Linked DNA regions of Homo sapiens: region 2 is linked to region 1. The links are contacts of gene promoters, found by promoter capture Hi-C in blood cells and fetal thymus (Javierre and others, 2016). All regions are on one chromosome and are shown on one strand. The core of a region is centred on a gene start or on the middle of the fragment in contact, and the rest is flanking DNA. Distances in the headings are between cores, read along the strand shown.

Evidence for each region. The method cuts DNA at HindIII sites, captures the fragments that hold promoters and counts their contacts. A CHiCAGO score of 5 or more calls a contact.
Region 2: a contact is called between a fragment that was not itself captured here and the fragment with the promoter of PIGN in region 1, in 4 of 17 cell types (megakaryocytes, M2 macrophages, M0 macrophages and 1 more). The highest score is 7.8, in megakaryocytes.

Annotation. Positions count from the first base shown.
Region 1 is chr18:62,182,269-62,188,574 of GRCh38, forward strand. PIGN (phosphatidylinositol glycan anchor biosynthesis class N) reads right to left here and starts at 4,788. Exons shown (of 31, transcript NM_176787.5): 1 at 4,576-4,788. It overlaps RELCH (RAB11 binding and LisH domain, coiled-coil and HEAT repeat containing), which reads left to right and starts at 4,987. Exons shown (of 29, transcript NM_001346231.2): 1 at 4,987-5,763. The coding sequence starts at 5,238. RefSeq lists silencers at 4,290-4,502, 5,453-5,672 and an enhancer at 5,093-5,302. The HindIII fragment of the contact is 4,021 bases long and covers 2,762-6,306 here.
Region 2 is chr18:62,413,940-62,420,245 of GRCh38, forward strand. It overlaps the pseudogene RPL17P44. Among named protein-coding and RNA genes, the nearest start is that of TNFRSF11A, 92 kb to the left of the region's middle. RefSeq lists an enhancer at 4,446-4,495. The HindIII fragment of the contact is 6,401 bases long and covers 549-6,306 here.

The DNA.
Region 1 (6,306 bases), core at 3,538-6,037:
CCAAATCCACATATGTAACTCGAACCTTTATAAATCTACATGGACGTTTCAAAGACACTCAACTAAGTAGGTTTAAAACCAAATTCATAACATTTCCCATGAGCCTTGTCTACTACCTACTAAATCCTTAGTGTTCACAATCTCAGTAGGTGGCACCACCTTCCCACCAAGTATGTAAGTCTGAGAAATAGGCATTGTTCTTTACACCCTATTCTTCCCCTTTATTTAATCTAACAATTGTCCACTTTGTGTTTCTTGAATCTGTTCATTTGTCTTAATCTCCATTGACACCTCTATAATTTAAGATGTATACCATCTCTTATGCGAACTACTGCAATGCAGGAATAGGTCACCCCTATATACTCTAACCCTTCTCTGATCCATTTCTTGCCATGTAGCCAGAGTATTACTTGCTTTTCTTTTTTCAAAAGAAAATCTGAACATCTTACCCCTTGTATAAAACTCTCCAGTGCCTTCTGTGAAGCATTCACTGTCTTTAAAGTCAAAAGACACGTTTGCAACAACACGGATGTTCCTGAAGCCTGGTATGCTAAGTGAAATAAGCCAGGTGCAGAAACACAAATACTGCATGATTTCACTCCTATGTGGAACTTAAGAAAGTTGACCCCACTGAATTAGAAGCAGAATGGTGGTAACCAGAGGCTGGGGTAGTTCCACAGCGGGGGGCAATTGTAGAGATACTGATCAAAGCATTCATATTAGAGTTAGATAGAAGGAATAAGTTCAAGAGCTCTGTTGTACAGCATGGTGACTCTAGTTAATGATGATATATTGTATTCTTGAAAACTGCTAAAAGGGTAGATGTTCAAATTTCTCATCACAAAAATGATAACTATGTGTAAGGTAATGCATTTGTTACTTAGCTAGATTTGAGCATTTCACAATGTATATAAACTGAAGAACATCATGTACACAATGAATACATAAAATCGTATATTAAAAAATAAATTTAAAAATGAAGTCACAGCTGGAAAAAAAAAACTCTCCAGTGCCTTTTCACCTACTAATCTAGACTAAAATCCTTAATGTGACTAACAAGGTCTTTTATAGACTAGCCTCTGCCTTCTTTTCTAAACCTGTCTCATAGCACTCCCCTTTACTTTGTAACATCTCACATCACTGGCCCCTTCTTTTATTCAAGTATCCCACTGCTATAAGACCTTTGTAGGCTCAATTCCTCTCTGCAGAATGTACTTGCAACCTATCTTCCACTCTCTCCTAACATTCCATTTCAAGCATCACTTCCTCAGGGACTATGCAGGTGAAGTCAGAAACGAAAACTTTTACTTCAGTTTGTAATTACATAGCTTTGTCTACGACTATTTGAATTAATGTCTGTCTCTGTCACTTCACCACAATTCCATGACAGCAGGACGGGGCATCTCCAACACCCATCAGAGTCTTATGCACTTAGTAAGGACTCAAATGTTTGCTGAATAAATTATTTAGAATTATCATTTCAAGGGTAAATGCAATATGCACTACAGCCACTAGAGGATGCCCTGCTTCTGTTTTTGTTCCTCCAGAACAAGATGTGAAGACTGAAAATACTTTAAAAAAAAAAAAACTAAACCTTTTATGATAAAGTAATTTACTATTAATGTAAATAAAATTGCAGTTATTACAAAATATCAGCATTCACTAACTACTTATTTTAATTAGTTTAATTGCTTAATACTAAATATTACTTAATACTTCTCTTTAAAGAAAATCACAATTTATTCAGATTTATTGAAAAAGAAATACCTCCAAAACAAACACATAACTATTAAAATTTTAAAAAGATATATGCATGTACCAATACAAGTTATCTAGTTTATCTGTGGATGTTTACCACACACTGAAAAACAATAAAACATGAGGTATTACTAAAACCTCAAGTCAACCAAAACTTGCATTCAGAATATTACTTGTGGTTCTTTTAAGACTATTAAAACCTAAAATAATTTTTTAAATACTAAAATGATTGACGTGCTTTGAAAAAAGGCATCTTTTACATCTTCATTGCTAAGGCACAAGCTTTAATAACTATCATTAGTCAGATGAAACATTAGTTGTAAGGGCCTAGATTAATGAAAATCTTACTAAGTAGAAAGGAAATTTCCCAACACTATTAATAATACATTATTATAAGTAGTGATCGGTAATTTTTAATATTCCAGTGTGTGTTACTTATACATTATTCACGAATAACCAAACCTCTGTGTATTGTGGAAAAGAAAAGTACATACTGGGAAGACTGGGCAGTTGATTTCTAATGGGCTTACAAGATCAAACACACAAGTTCATGGTTATAGGATAGGAGGCAGAAATAGAAGCAGAAAACCACAGATTTGTATGGGAAGAATTCCTCTACATGCAAGTTCTTACAACTCTGAGGAAACATTTTAAATCTATTTTCAACTTGTGTTTTAGAACTGAGACCCCAAATTAAAGATACTCCCTTCAGCCCTACTGACTTAATTGCTTTTTCAGGCTTGCACTGCCAAAACGATTGATATTAGTTTTATTTTTAAACACTTGTCAAATGTTCTCAACACATACTAATATTTCAATAATTAATAAGTGACCACAGTAATAGTTATTGTGTAGCAGGTACCAGGCACTGGGACAAGAACATTCTCAATTCTGTGTACTTTCCTTATCCCCTTTGATAGACGAATGCAAGTGAGGCTGAGAAGTTAGGTAACTTTTTCAAGGTCTCACAATAAATAATGAGTAGAATTGGGATCTGAACTTAAGCTTTTCTATCTTATAAGCATAATCCTCTTCAGGAATCCTAAATGCAGGAGATTTCTCAATTTCCCAATCATGGAGATGGAAATATTGTATATAAACAATCCATTTCTAATCATGCCCTTCCCATGCCATTCACTAATCCTCCATTCCTGGATTCCAGAAATTGGTTCCATTTTAATCTCTCTGGAAAATCCAACTAAAATACGGATCAGCAATCCCTTTTGCTAAGAAATCTCTAACAGGATACAGTATTTGCCATTTCAATTCTATTTGGGGGGATTTTTTTCCCCATGTTTTACTTTTAATATATGGCACAGAAAACTATTTATCATTAAAACATTGGGAACTAATGTCCTATAAAAAAATAGTTTAAATTCTTGGTACTTTTTTTTTAAACTTCTAGCAAAAATAAAATTTTAAAAACCCAAATCCCCATTCAAATGAAAATTTTAGTTTATTGAGCCTGGGTATATTGAAATTAAAGCCTACTCTTAACTGTTGGCATACTTTTACATGTAAACCAATAACCTGACCTAAGGTTATGTAAGAATCGTCTATTTTAATTTTTCCATGGAGCTAACGGGAGATACTTTACTGTGGAATGTTTACTACACACTGAATGTAATATGTCACTTACCTGTACACTAAGAAAGGAAATCTAAAGCCTGGAAAAGTGGTCATTTGTGTGTGAAAAAAATAGGAGCCATAAGAAATAGCAGTCTAATTGTATTGACTGGAAATTCCTTTACCTTTTCAGATCATAATCAAGGAATGACATAAAAGATAAACGTTGATCTTCTAAACTTAGGATATGTACTTTATATGCTAACATTTCATCAAAAAAATCAAAACTCTCTGAAGCATTCAACTTTTAAAATAGTTCTAAGTTCCAAAACCTTGATTCTAGCCTGCATGAACGAGTCAGAAATGTTGCAGGAGACAGTGGATAAAGAATCGTTTGGGACATAAGAGAAATGATGTTAATTCCTTTGACTCCTTATTAGCGGAATTGATTTTTTTTTTTTTTTTTTTTTTTTTTTGAGACGGAGTCTCGTTCTGTCGCCCAGGCTGGAGTGCAGTGGCGCGACCTCGGCTCACTGCAATCTTCGCCTCCGGGGTTCAAGCGATTCTCCTGCCTCAGCCTCCTGAGTAGCTGGGATTGCAGGCTTGCGCCACCACGCCCAACTAATTTTTGTGTTTTTAGTAGAGAAGGGGTTTCACCATGTTGGTCAGGCTGGTCTCGAACTCCCGACCTCGTGATCCGCCCGGCTCGGCCTCCCAAAGTGCTGGGATTACAGGCGTGAGCCACCGCGCCCGGCGTGGAGCTGATTTTATAACAACCACTCTTGGCTTAAGTTTACTTATCTGTCTACTGGTGAGACAGCATTAGATATTCTGAAGGGTCCCTGTTGTGTAAATCGTGTATTAAATCCTAAGCGTTTATTGAGTACCTAACAATTTGTTTTCCAACTCGACGATGTTCCCAGATCCAGGCAAATGCCAACCTCAGCGTTCCCTTTTCCGTTTAGTCTCTCCAGCCCCCGTCCCCACCCACAGGCAGGACCACCTCCGGGGCTGAGAAGTCGTGCTGTCGCTAGGCCTCCCGAGTGTGCAAGCATGTGGCAGAGAAGGGAAAAGAAAGGAAGTCACATTCCGACTACAGGCCTGGGCACTTGCTATCCATGGGGACAAAATGTCACCACTGGCAGCAAATAGCGAGAAAAAGTGCAGCGCAGTAGGGAAACAGCGCGTCCGCGGGCGCGACACCACAGTTTGGGCGCCGACACCCTCCGCGCACTGGTCCCTGAACTTTACCTGGAGCTTATCCCGGTCAGGCCTGATCTCGAAAACGAGGGCTCCTCAGCGCGAAGGCAGGACCCAGCTCCATTAAAGCTCTCGGGCAGTGGTCCCCTCTACCCACTGAAGCGATAGCCGGGAGGGTATTCCTAAGCCACCACTACAACCACCCCTCAATTCCGGAACGCCCCCAATACCTGCCCGGCCGCTGCTGCTATCGCGATAATTCTCGGGCCAGTCTCCCGTCAGTCCGCTCCACGCCTTCCTTCTCTGACCAATCATGGAGGAGTCGTGGGTGGAGTTTTGCTTTTGAGCGGAGAGCGGGGCCTTCAATCTTTGCTATCTGGCGCTGGGAATGGGCGGAGCTGAAGTGGGCTGGGGCGGGGCTGGGGCGGGGCTAGATCGGGGAGAGGGGCAGGGGCACGCTCCAGTTCTCGCGAGACTGGAGACCAGGAAGACGCCTGCAGAGCCGGGCTGCTGGTGCAGCAGAGGCTGAGGCATCAGGTGCAGCTGCATCCGGATCTCCTGCCTTGGAGCGTACTCCTTGTCTCTAAGTCGGGAGGCAGGACGTGGTCAGGCCGGGGCTGTGGAGGTGCGCTGTGTCCCCTGAGGCCTAGAGGATTCGGGCTGCGGCCCGTCGGAACCAGTCAGGGAGGCGCCCACACTCCTGACAGGATAAGATGGCGGCGATGGCGCCTGGAGGTAGTGGCAGTGGTGGCGGCGTGAATCCATTTCTCAGTGATTCGGATGAGGACGATGACGAGGTAGCTGCAACAGAGGAACGGCGGGCAGTACTTCGGCTGGGCGCCGGAAGTGGCCTAGATCCTGGCTCTGCGGGCTCGCTGTCGCCACAGGATCCCGTGGCCTTAGGAAGCAGTGCGCGGCCAGGGCTCCCTGGGGAGGCGTCGGCGGCTGCAGTGGCCCTGGGGGGCACCGGGGAGACCCCGGCCCGATTATCAATTGATGCGATCGCTGCTCAGCTGTTGCGCGATCAATACTTGCTGACCGCCCTGGAGCTGCATACCGAGCTGTTAGAGAGTGGCCGGGAGCTGCCTCGGCTGCGCGACTACTTCTCCAATCCAGGCAACTTCGAGAGGCAAAGTGGAACCCCGCCGGGGATGGGGGCGCCAGGGGTCCCTGGAGCAGCCGGCGTTGGGGGCGCTGGAGGTCGGGAACCGAGTACAGCGTCGGGCGGGGGACAGCTCAGTAAGTGGACGCAGCCTGTCACACTCCGGCAGGGTATTTGGGATTGTACGGAGTTACTGTAGGGGAGAGGGGGTATTTCTGCGTGGGTCCCGATAGGGACATTTTAAGGAACGAGAGTATTGGGGTGGGGGCGCTCTTTTGCGGTGGAAGCAAGAGGATCAGGCAATGACTGTTCTCTCTGCCTGCTTCCAACCCTTGGCTGGTGTTGCACTTGGCTCCTGGCTCCCCTACTGGTGTCAGTATCTATAAAATATCAAGAGTTTCTAGTTCACTGGCTATTACGGGACTCCAGAAGGTTCCCTTTTATACTAGTTTATTGCTTTAAGCATTTTCCTTTTTCTCCAGTTACCTGAATCACACTACCAGGAAATAGTGTTACCTGAATTGCCTGCAGTAGTTCTTTGAGTCTGAGCCAGGAGAGAAAGAATAGGACACACTGCTGCTGTCTCCGAAAAGTCAGATGTACTTAAGACCCTTTGTCTTTGGGACGACTTTTTCACCGCCAAAATTGGGTTTTCTGCTGCACAAAATTTGTTCTGTTGA
Region 2 (6,306 bases), core at 2,499-4,998, 230 kb after region 1:
AACTACCAAAGTATTTGAATATCAAGCTATGAAGACATTGAAGTCAATTACTTTGGCTGTGGCAATTATGGTGTGTCAAGTCAACTGTGGTATATAATGACAACTTGTTATCCTACAACACTCTTATCATAAATGGTACCCTCCTTAATAACGAAACTCAAATCCATGTCTGCCTAATGACCAGCCAGCAGAAGTCAGCTCGGTCAGCACCCACACTGCAAGCAAATGAGCCTCATTTACAGCTCTCTAGTTTTTGTACATTTTTCTTCACACTTTGACAATTTTTCATTCATCACTATGACTGAGAAAAGGAAATATAATGCATAAAATATAAAATCTCCACAATAAGTCAGGAGAGCAACCATTTAAGAAATGAAGCACTATATTCCACACTGTGTTGGCCAATGTTAGCAATAGGCTCAAACTCCTGACAAGACCAGATACAGAGATGCCTTGTATGACATCAACAGGATTTAATTTCTAAAGGTTAAAGAAGGAAGTCAATTCGGCTGGAGTTCAAGTGAAAAACCATCAAGATTCTCAGTGCAAGCTTCCAGATCAGAGCTGCCCTACAGAATTTTCCATGTTGACCAGACGGTAACCAGTGGCCACATGGCTGCTGAGTGCTTGAAATGTGGCTGGTACCACTGAGCAAATACCTTTACAACTTTAATTAATTTTAAATTATCTTCTTTTTTCTATACCTCAACCCCTTTTCTCCTTCCATCCCCAATGCATTCTTTTAGCATCTGGGTCATAAAATCCTCATGGGAGAGAGATGTACACATTGGGTATAAAGTCTGAGAAAATAAGGGTCCCATTACCCTTCCTGGAAACCTAACCATCTATTGCTGAGGTGGGCTTGTATGTAGCCTAATCTCTGTATATGTCAGAGATCATCTTACCTACACCAGGTTCACATTTTCCATCTTAGAGTTATACAGGACATTGTATATAGGACCTGCAGGGATATGGGGTACACTACCAGTACACCCAGACATGAATGAAATGCTGCCTCAGCATCCTAGACTCCAGGCTAGCACAGTGTTGTCCAAAGAACGTTTCTGAACTCCAGGCTGAGGGACTGGAGCAAGATTCACCCTGACATCTCTAGGAGTTATGCTGACAAGCTCCTCAGACAGCAAAAGGGCTTGTCTTCCACCTGGCAACGGAAGTCAGGCATGGATGGACATGAAGGAGCCTCCCGGTTCCAGTGGTTCTGTTAAGCTACAAACGTAATTTTCAGTCACAAAGAAAATAGCTGACGGAAGCCAATCGCAATCAACAAATTATTTTGCCTTCTGGTTGGTCATCGTTGTAATGAAAATATTTCCTTTCAATGCATGGAAAGCAGTTTAGCAGAACTAGCAAAGAAAGATGGCATGATCATTAGCTCATTTAATATTACAGCTCATGGGACAAGCATAGATTCAGAAGCATTAAATAATATTCTAGGTAAATTATCAGAAGTCAAGAAAGAGGAAAGCTAGAGTTCATGACACATGTTAATTTACTTAGGGAATCTTCAAACATGAAAAAGAAGTAAAAATAAAGTGAACACCTATGTAGCTATCAACCAAGTTCAACAATTATCAACACCTGGCCATTCTTGTTTCTTTACTTCAACCTACTTTCCCTTCCATCCCCAGCGAATTATTTTAAAGAAAGTCTCAGCTCTTCCCCTAAGTGTTTCTGCTGGCAATACTAAGTGGTACAACCTGAGGTAATCTGTGAAAATGGTTTGCTATTCACTTGATCTGTAGAAGCCCACACAATCATACAAATCAAGAGGTTCAAATTTTCCTGTTCACTTTAAGAACACTCGTGAAACTGCCCAGGCCATCAAGGCTATGCATATACAAAAAGCCATGAAGTATCTGAAAGATGTCACTTTACAGAAACAGTGTGTACCATTCCAACGTTACAGTGGTGGAGTTGGTAGGTGTGCCCAGGCCAAGCAGTGGGGCTGGACACAAGGTTGGTGACCCAAGAAGAGTGCTGAATTTTTGCTGCACATGTTTAAAAATGCAGAGAGCAATGCTGAACTTAAGGGTTGAGATGTAGACTCTCTGGTCATTGAGCATATCCAAGTGGACAAAGCATCTAAGATGTGTTACCAGACCTACAGAGCTCATGGTTAGATTAAGCCATACGTGAGCATTCCCTGCCACATCGAGATGATCCTTACTGAAAAGGAACAAATTATTCCTAAACCAAAAGAAGAGGTTGCCCAGAAGAAAAAGATGTCCCAGAAGAAACTGAAGAAACAAAAACTTATGGCACAGGAGTAAATTCAGCATTAAAATAAATGCAGTTAAGGCCAGGCACAGTGGTTCACGCCCGTAATCCCAGCACTTTGGGAGGCCGAGGTGGGTGGATCACTTGAGGTCAGGAGTTTGAGACCAGCCTGGCCAACATGGTGAAACCCCTTCTCTATTAAAAATTAAAAAATTAGCTGGGCGTGGTGGTGCGTGCCTGTAATCCCAGCTACTCAGGAGGCTGAGGCAGGAGAATCGCTTGAACCTGGGAGACAGAGGTTGCAACGAGCCGAGATCGCGCCACTGCACTCCAGCCGGAGTGACAGAGTGAGACTCTGTCTCAAGACAATAAATGAATAAATGCAATTAAAAGTTTTAAAAAGTCCCAGATATCACATAATTTTATCTTTTAAAAAGCCTTTAGTTTATATCACTAAAGATAAGGCAATTTTTAAACATACTACAGTATCATCACATCTAAAAATATTAGTAATAATTCCTAGATACCATCAAATAAACAGAAAGTCTAGCTGTCATACCTGTACCCTCCTCTGTTGCCTCCCTCTCCCACAGTAATATTTTTTAGTTTTGATTTGTCCTTCAATTATTTTTTTATGTAAGCAAATAAATATAGTAAATATTTGTTGTTTTTTCCTTCACAGAGAAGAGGTAACCCATTATACACATTTTCTGCATCTGGATTGCACTTAAAAATTATTCTCACTTGACACCAATACATAGAAAACTTTGTTCTTTTTTTCAGCTACATAGTACTCCAACATGTGAAGGTACTTTATTCAACCATTACTCTGTTGATGGACATTTGGGCTATTCCCAGTTTTTTGCTCTTACTAGCAGTGTCATCATGAAAAGCCTTGTGTATATGAATTTCTTATTTTGAGAGCATCTTTGGAATAGATTCCTAGAAGTGGGATTGATGAGTCAAAAGGCAAATGCATATAATGTTGCTAGCTATTGTCAAACTCTCTTCTATAAAGATTATACCACTTAATATTGCCAGCAGAAATGAGTATGGTGTCCTTCTTTATGATTTTTTTGGCCCTCTGAGAAATGAGAAGTAGTATCTCAGTGAGGTTTCAATTTCCTTTTTTTTTTTTCTGTAATCTATATTTTGAGAACTTCATTCTAAGAGAACAAGACTCCTTTTGGACAGTAACACCATTGGAATTGTCAAAAAAGAAAAATCTTCCCTGGTTACATTATGTGTTGAATAAAGAAGTTTTTCTTGCAGATAGGCTTGAGTTGTCAAGTTTTCATTCAGAGCAGCTCAAGCATGGGGAGTTTATGAAAATGGAATCGTTGAAATTCATAGAATGAGAAGCCTCAAAGAGCTCTTTTTACCAGCATATTCCATTGAATACCTTTGGAGACATTCATACCCATCAAATACTCAGAGCATACTTTTTGAGAAGATTAAACCTAACTTAGAAGTTGGAGGTTCTTGGCACAATAAAGAAAAGCAATGCTTAACCCTGAAAGATTAACTGGGGAAAAACATGATACCTTCAGTCAAAACTTTATGGAACTTTTATTTTAAAAAACTTCATTTCACCCTACCCATGACCAAGTACCCCCCAAGAAATGTTTAGAACATATCATTTATATGAGCTGTTTGAATTTAAACACTGAATAAATGCTTGCAAAAGCATATATTTGTCCTAACTTCTATTTTATTTTTAAATCAACTTTGGCATTTTCACACTGTAAAGTGAGTTTTTTATGTGAGGGCTTGCTTTACAGAAATTTCAATATCCCATGTTTACAAAGAAGCACTCACTGAGGATTCAATTCTCTTGCAATTAATTTTCCCAAGTTGCCAGCTAGCAGGCTACCAATCTATGGAGCGTTCAACATTTAGGGATGAACTTTCATGGGCCCTGGGGATGCAAAGATTACTACTTTGTGGTTCCTCGGTAGAGGAGCTGAAAAGTAAACATGTAAATTAAAACAGCCTATGACATAGGACCAACCAGGGTGTGTTGTCATTGTTGACATGTATCTCTACCAGAAAAGTTCACTCTTCTTTATAAATGACAGCATTATTGAGCTGTTACCAACAGTAATTCACATGACCAATGGTGGACAACCAGGACTCCAAGATGGTGTCAGTTGCACCAGTGAAAGAGAGGAAAGTCATGGATGCCTAACTTGGGGAGCTGCCAAGCTGGCTATTGATGTGGGGTTTCACCCTGAAAGGCATGATTGGAGCATTTCAAAGAAGTTACTACCCGCATTAGAACAAGTGCCTCACAGGAAGGAAGGGAGCATTGCAGGGGTTTCTATAGCTGGCAGCTTACAGCTTTTCCTCTATGTTCTTTCTTACAAAGAGCTCAACTGTGAGCAACTCTGCAAGCATCACCTAAGAGGGGCCAGTGAAGGGTGCACTCTGCCCTTCTGACCATGACCTCCTTGGCCCATCACCCCTTTGTGAGAAACTCCATCACTGCTGAATCCTTTTATATCCTAATTGAGAACTAACGCCCAAACAGAAGATGACTGGTATGTGTAAAGAAATACAAATAATAAAATTCACATACCATATAATTCATCTCTTTAAAGTGCACAATTCAATGGGTTTTTTGTGTGTACATTCAGAGTTGTGCAACCATCACCACATTCAATTTTTAGAACAATTCATCACCCCCAAAAAGAAACTGTGCATCCACTCACAGTCACTCACTATTTCTTCCAACCTGCACCCCCCACCCCCAGCCCTGAGTGACCACTAATCTTTGCATTCTCCCTAGATTTACCTATCTGGGATATTTCATACAATGAAATGAAAATGAAATCATACAGTATGCAGTCGTGGTGACTGTCCTCTTTCATAATGTTTTTGAGGTTTGTCAATGCTGTACTATGTATCAGTATTTAATTCCTTTTTCTTTCCAAATCATAGTCCATTGTGGATATACTATGTTTTCTGTTGCTTACTGTTTGATATGGTTTGGATTTTTGTCCCCACACAAATCTCATGTTGAATTGGAGGACGGGCCTGGTGGGAGGTGACTGGATCATGGGGGCAGATTTCCCCCATGTTGTTCTCATGACAGTGAGTGAGTTGTCACAAGATCTGATGGTTTAAAAGTGTGTGACATATTGCGGCACTATTCACAATAGCAAAGACTTGGAAACAACCCAAATGTCCATCAATGATAGACTGGATTAAGAAAATGTGGCACATATACACCATGGAATACTATGCAGTCGTAAAAAAAGGATGAGTTCATGTCCTTTGCAGGGACATGGATGCAGCTGGAAACCATCATTCTAAACAAACTATCACAAGGACAGAAAACCAAACACCGCATGTTCTCACTCACAGGTGGGAATTGAACAATGAGAACACTTGGATATAGGGCGGGGAACATCATACACCCGGGCCTGTCATGGGGTTGGGGGAGGGGGGAGGGATAGCATTAGGAGAAATACCTAACGTAAATGACGAGTTAATGGGTGCAGAAAACCAACATGGCGCATGTATACCTATGTAACAAACCTGCATGTTGTGCATATGTACCCTAGAACTTAAAGTATAATTAAAAAATATATATAAATAATAAATAAATAAATAAAAGTGTGCGACACTTCCACCTTTGCTCTCTCTCTCTCCTGCTCCACCACAGTAAGATGCGCTTACTTCCCCTTTGCCTTCCATCATGAATGTAAATTTCCTAAGGCTTCCTGGTCTTGCTTCCTATTAAGCCTGTGGAACTGTGAGTCGATTAAACCTCTTTTCTTCATAAATTACCCAGTCTTAGGTAGTTCTTTATAGAAATGTGAAAACAGACTAATACCCTATTCTGTTATTAGGTGACACTAATATACAGTGAAATGCACACATGTGAAGCATGGCTATGCCACATTTTTGTTATCCATTCATCTGTTGGTGAACAATTGGGGTGTTTCTACTTTTTGACTGTTAGGAATAATGCTGCTGTGAACATTCATGTAGAAGCATTTGAGTGGATGTTTAGTGGAACTGCTGGGTTGAACAGGCTAACTCACGGAAGGAACGCATCATTGT